Linked DNA regions of Homo sapiens: region 2 is linked to region 1. Evidence: promoter capture Hi-C in human tissues and cell types (Jung and others, 2019). All regions are on one chromosome and are shown on one strand. Each heading gives the region's core, a stretch centred on a gene start or on the middle of the fragment in contact. The rest is flanking DNA. Distances are from core to core; before and after follow the strand shown. Region 1 holds the start of ADAMTS12 (ADAM metallopeptidase with thrombospondin type 1 motif 12). Region 2 overlaps SLC45A2 (solute carrier family 45 member 2).

What was found. Contacts are between HindIII fragments. The study calls those that stand out against the background at their distance.
Region 2: a contact is called between a fragment that was not itself captured here and the fragment with the promoter of ADAMTS12 in region 1, in 2 of the 25 tissues and cell types used here (aorta and small bowel).

Annotation. Positions count from the first base shown.
Region 1 is chr5:33,890,734-33,893,493 of GRCh38, reverse strand. It overlaps ADAMTS12 (ADAM metallopeptidase with thrombospondin type 1 motif 12), which reads left to right and starts at 1,504. Exons shown (of 24, transcript NM_030955.4): 1 at 1,504-1,764. The coding sequence starts at 1,638. RefSeq lists enhancers at 1,221-1,720, 1,721-2,222. The HindIII fragment of the contact is 6,841 bases long and covers 1-2,760 here.
Region 2 is chr5:33,960,788-33,963,687 of GRCh38, reverse strand. All of the region lies in intron 3 of SLC45A2 (solute carrier family 45 member 2), which reads left to right. Among named protein-coding and RNA genes, the nearest start is that of SLC45A2, 22 kb to the left of the region's middle. The HindIII fragment of the contact is 4,261 bases long and covers 1-2,900 here.

The DNA.
Region 1 (2,760 bases), core at 255-2,754:
ATGTAATCGCAAGGGTCCTTATAAGTGGAAAAGGGAGGAAGAAGAGTGATGTGATGTGAGAAAGACTCAAAGGGCCATTGCTAGCTTTGATGGGGGAAGAGGGCCATGAGCTGAGGAATTCAGGCAGCCTCTAGAAGTTGGAAAAGGCAAGACAACAGATTCTCCCCTAGAGTCTTCAGAAATGAATGCAGCTGTGCTAACTCCTTGATTTTAGCCCAGTGAGACCAGTTTCAGATCAGAACTGTCACATAAGAAATTTGAGTTGTTTCAAGCCACTGAATTTATGGTAACTTGTAACACCAAAAATAGGAAACTAGCATATACCTCTCAAAGTCTTGGTGCCCATGTGTTCCACATCTGAGAGGACCACCTTGCTTTCAGACCACTGAGTTTGCCTTGGAGGCTCTGTCCCTATACAAGGTTGAGTAAGCTGGTATCCCAGAACTCTTGATTAACACATGTGGTTGGCTGGCAGCCAGGGAAAAGTCAATATTGGGGGCCGAATTCTTCCTGAATGGAGTAAGGAGGCCTGTTTCAGCTCAGAGGTGAAAAATCTTGGCTGGATTAGCCCAGTAAATTCTCAAGATGCCTGGCAAGCGTCCTGGATTGTGGCATTCTCTGACCGATGTAAAAGCTTGAGCCTCTGAATGAATGGACGCCCTCTCCAGGGTAGCCAGTTCAGGGAAACTGGGGAGATACCTTAACACCTTCCTGGGTTGACTTAATTCCTGGTTTCCTTTTGAGTGAATGGAGGTGGGCTAGGAAAGATGGGGTTCTAGAATCAGAAGAGCCGCACAGAGATCTGCAGACTCAGAGGGGCCCACAGGCATTTGCAGCAGTCACCTCATTGCACAGCTGAGGGGGCTTGTCTGAGGTCACATTAGCAGATTAGCGCAGCCCATTTCCCTTTGTGTGACTTGGCAAAGAGAAAAATCGCCTATTAGTTTTTCCAGTGGAAGAGAATCCCAGAGCGGTCCGAGTGGGTGAGGAGTCTTGATAGAGCGATGTTGGGAAAAGTTCAGGAACTTGGAGGAGAACAGCAGGGGAGGGGGCAGCGCTGAGCGCGGAAGGATGGAGGGAGTGGGGCCCCCCTCTGCCTCAACTCTGTTCTCCTCATTTTGAGCTTGTATTTAAGCACGCCGGGGGGCTGGCCTGGGGGCCTCTCACTCGCAGCTTCCTCCAGTGCCTCCCAGGGCGGCTCTCCCGGGTCTCCCCTATTTGGCCGGCTCGGCCAGCTGGGCCTGGCGTTCGGGGCGGGGCCGGAGGAGCGCGGGGGTGGGAGTCCGGGAGGAAGATGCACCGAGCGGGCGGGCTGCGAGGCCGCGGGGCATGCGGGAGGCGGAGGGGTGGGGACCGGGGTGGGCTGCGCCCTCCCGCTCTGGCCCATTCCACACCCCGCCGAAAGCGGACACTGTCAGCTGAATCACTCCCCTTTTAGGAGGAGGGAGGGGAAAAAGGTGTCTAGCTCCTTTCTGCTTAAAAAAGCACAGGGAGATCGCGGGCAGCTTTGCAGTCGCTGCCTTCTCGCGCCTGACCATGCACCCCTGCATCTTCCTGCTGGGCCACAGGCGAGCGCTTTATTTCTGGAGCTGAGGGCTAAAACTTTTTTGACTTTTCTTCTCCTCAACATCTGAATCATGCCATGTGCCCAGAGGAGCTGGCTTGCAAACCTTTCCGTGGTGGCTCAGCTCCTTAACTTTGGGGCGCTTTGCTATGGGAGACAGCCTCAGCCAGGCCCGGTTCGCTTCCCGGACAGGAGGCAAGGTTAGTGACTCTTCTTTATTTCTTTTTAAAACAGTGGTGGTAAGACTTGCGGGAATTTTGTTGCTCCCCTTTCCCTTCCCCCACCCGGCAGAACTGAACTCTGAAAAGCCATTTGGCTGCGTTGTAAGGAAATCTGGGCTGGGACCTCAGGAGCCTAGGCTTTCTCAGAATTCAGTGCTTAAGGTGATGAGTCCTTCATTCTTATAGAAAGGTGAGTACCTCACTCTTTTACAGGGATGACACTGCAGTCTTTGAAAGACCCAAGAGGTAGCTGGTAACTTTTTCTCTTTTGTCTCCTCTTTGAATGCTGTACTGTTTTGATCCCCTATTTTTCAGACTCTAAACATGGAAAATTTTTTTTTTAAGTGCTAACTGGCTACTGGCCGTCATTGCAGTGTTTCTAGTTAGTTTTAAACCTCTGGTCAGGAAAGGGGAAATGTGATTCTTCCCCCCTACTGAGCAGGCTTGGCTGTGTTTTGGTTTCCTGGAAAGATTTAGGGTTGTATTTTTGAAAGAATAGTCCTTTTGGGGGAACTATACCTCCATAAGGGCTCACTTTTTCCTGTCCTGTCTCACTGACCACAGCTGGCTGCTTCTCTTTATGAATTTCTGAACTCATGTTATTGTAGGAAGCATTGGAAGCGTTCTGGTGGACAATTTGTTGTTGTTGTTTTATTCTTTTAAGCCTAACAGTCAGCAGTTTATTGGACTTGGAAGGGTCAGAGGCACCTTCATGTTTGGTGGGGGGTTCATTGTACCTCTGGGGGTAAACAGTCCTAGCAGCAGCAATGGCCCGCGTGGCACTCTGTGTCAGCCCATCCGATCACTGGCAATAGCCTTCCAGGGTGCAGGTACCAGTGTTGCTGTCCCTGCTGTACAGATGAGGATGCTGCAGCTTGGAGAGCTTATGAGGCCAGCTAATGTAGAGCAGAGTTTTCAGCTCAGGTAGTCTGACTCTTAGAATCATGCAGCACTGTCCTGTAGCAATAATAGGGA
Region 2 (2,900 bases), core at 66-2,565, 70 kb before region 1:
AAGATGCAACATTTTTTCTTTACAAGGGAAAATATTCTTGCTCTTTGTTGTTGTTGTTGTTTTTTTAATTGTTTGTTTTGTCTGTTTGACGAGAAGAGTTTCATGGGGTCTAACTGAATTCCCAAATCCCCCGTAGCTATCATCCCTTGGAATTAAAATTTTATATCTCAAAGAAAAATGTCTGCATTTTCCTCTGGTCCTCCTGTCTCTTACTCCTCTCAGGTAGCATCCAACCAGGGAAGATGAAGCCAGTTGAGAAAGGTTAGGCAACAAGAGAAGCCTAAAATCATCCTTAGGCCAGAAGAAATATCCCCTTAGATTAGGATCATAAATTAGAAATTTTTTCCTCCAAATGGTAGCATCCTTGGGTTGGTGACTGAGTTGGGCATATCGAATTTGCCTGTCATGAGTTGATTGGATATTTTCGTTCATTTTCAGCGAACTGCACAGTGAATTCATCAGCTTAAAATTTGAAATAAAACTCAACTAACTGCCAGAGAAATGAGACCATGTTCAGATGAAATGATCAGAGAAGAGACTAGAATTAAGCTGAGCAATATAGTAGCTAATAATCCCGTGGGGCTATTTAAATTAAAATAAAAATAAAATTAGAACTTCATTTCTTCAGTTGCATTAGCTACATTTCAAATGCTCAAAGGCCCCATAGGGCTTCTAGCTAAAATATAGGACGTGCAGATGTAAGACATTCCCATCATTGTAGAACGTTCTGTTGGACAACACTGATGAAATAATTGCATTTTCCTTCAAGCTAAAATTGAATGCCAAAACCTCAGGGATATAGAACAGAGGATTTCTTGATTGACAAAATGTTGTAGAAGACTTAAGTTCAAATCTTGGTTCCTCTAGCTGCTGACTTGTGTTATTCATTCAGTGAATCACAAATAGCTACTTGCTATAGGGTAACCTAAAGATTAAGAGCACAGTGCTTAAATCCTGGCTGTACCACCTCTGGATTGCATGACTTTGGGCATTTACATTTGTGTTAAATGATAAAATAATTCCATCTACCTACAAGGGTTTCGTGCAGGTTGCAGGGGCTAATTCAGGTAAAGTTACTTAGAGTGTTTGCAACCACATAATAAGCTGTTGGGTTTAGGCCTTGTTATTTTGACCCTGGCAGAACACTAGAGTGCCTTAAGCACAAACAGGGAACACAAATCTGGACTCCAACAACTTTCAGACAAGCTCAGTGAATCTCACCTTCCTGTGAGGTCAACTTCTTTTGTTGGCTTGGCCAGTCTATTTTCTAGGATTATTAGGATGTTCAACTAAGATAAAGCATACAAAGACACTTTTTCAAACTTCACATAAATATATCAATACATTATAATCATTATTCATTTAACAAACAGCTTGGGGTACTGAGTATGTGCAAAGCACTGTACTAGATATTTGGGGACCATAAAACTGACAAATGTCCAGTCTCTATGCCCAGGAATTTGCAGCCTAACACGTGGCATATGCCATTTATACCATGACTCATAATCCATGATAGAACATGGTAAATGCTATAAAACAATGTATCAGTTCAGATCTTTTAAAAAGGCACCAAGATAGGATTTGACATGTAAGAGATTCATTGGAGAAAACAGCATGAAAGATAAAGTGGAGAAAGCAGAAATAGGAAGGGAAAGTCTTCTTATGTTGATGCAAGTCAAACACCTGTGAAAGGAGAAAGGAAAGGAAAGAGGATAGGGTAGGAAGCCTCTCAGATGCAGTGAAGTTTCAAGAAAGCTTCACTCAGGCCAAATGGGAGTCCTCCAGCCAAAGTTGCTCCTTAGAGGAGTCCCAACTCTTGTAGGAACAGGCTAACACTAATACCCCCCGTCTTGTTAGTCACTATCTGGGAACAGCCAGGAAAGGGGTAACTTTGGCAGGAACAGGTACAGGAACAGAGTTCCTTGGCAGGAACAGGAACAGTGGATCCAGAGAGGCAGCATTCAGCGCTGTCGATCAACTGTGTTTTCTCTGGTAGGTGACCCAAACGGCACATTTCCAAGGTGGCCACAAATGGCAAAATAGCAATTGCTTTTAGTTTTAAAGAGGGAAGGATTGTGCCTAAATAAATGGAGAAAAGCGTTATGGAAGAGATCGCCCCTGAGTTGTGCCTTGAATGATAGTTAGGATTTGAATAGAGATTTTGGGGGAAAAGTACTTCTGACAGAAGAGCATCAGCAAAGCCACAGACATAAAAAATTTTTTTTAAAGCATGAAGCATATTTGTAGAAAGTATAAGTGGTACCATAGATCACAGAGTTTGTAACTTTAGAAATAAAGTTAGGAAAGCAAATTGGAGACACATTTTGGAAGCTTTTGAATGCCAGCATAGGAACTAAAATTTTATTAGGTGGATGATGGAGGTCCATCAAAACTAGTGGGGCAAAGGACTCCTTGATGTTAGCTTTTTTTGGTTGGTTTTTTGTTTTTGATATTAATCCAGCTGCTGACTACAGGGAATAAAGAGGTACCCAGGAGGGTTTATTTGGGTGAATAATAAGATGTCTTGGAATGAGTTGCACTGTGTGCTTGGTTCATTCACTTGTGCATTCTTTTATTCATTCAATAGCTATTAATTACACCTGCCAGACCCAGTGCTGAGCATCAGAAGACTAGTGAACACCACAGCCCTTGTTCTACCCCATGGAGTTGTCACCTAGAAAAGTGTGCCTATGTGTTATTTTGCTTTCTTAATCAAAGTTTAATTAGATTTACAAAAAAGTTGCAGATAGTAGAGAGAGTTCCTATGTATGCTTCACCAGCTTTTCTCTTATGTTAACATCATAGAGAACCATGTACATTTGTTAAAATTAAGAAATTAACACTGCTTCAATACTGTTAGGTAAACAGCAGACTTATTTGAATTTCACCAGTTTTTCTAC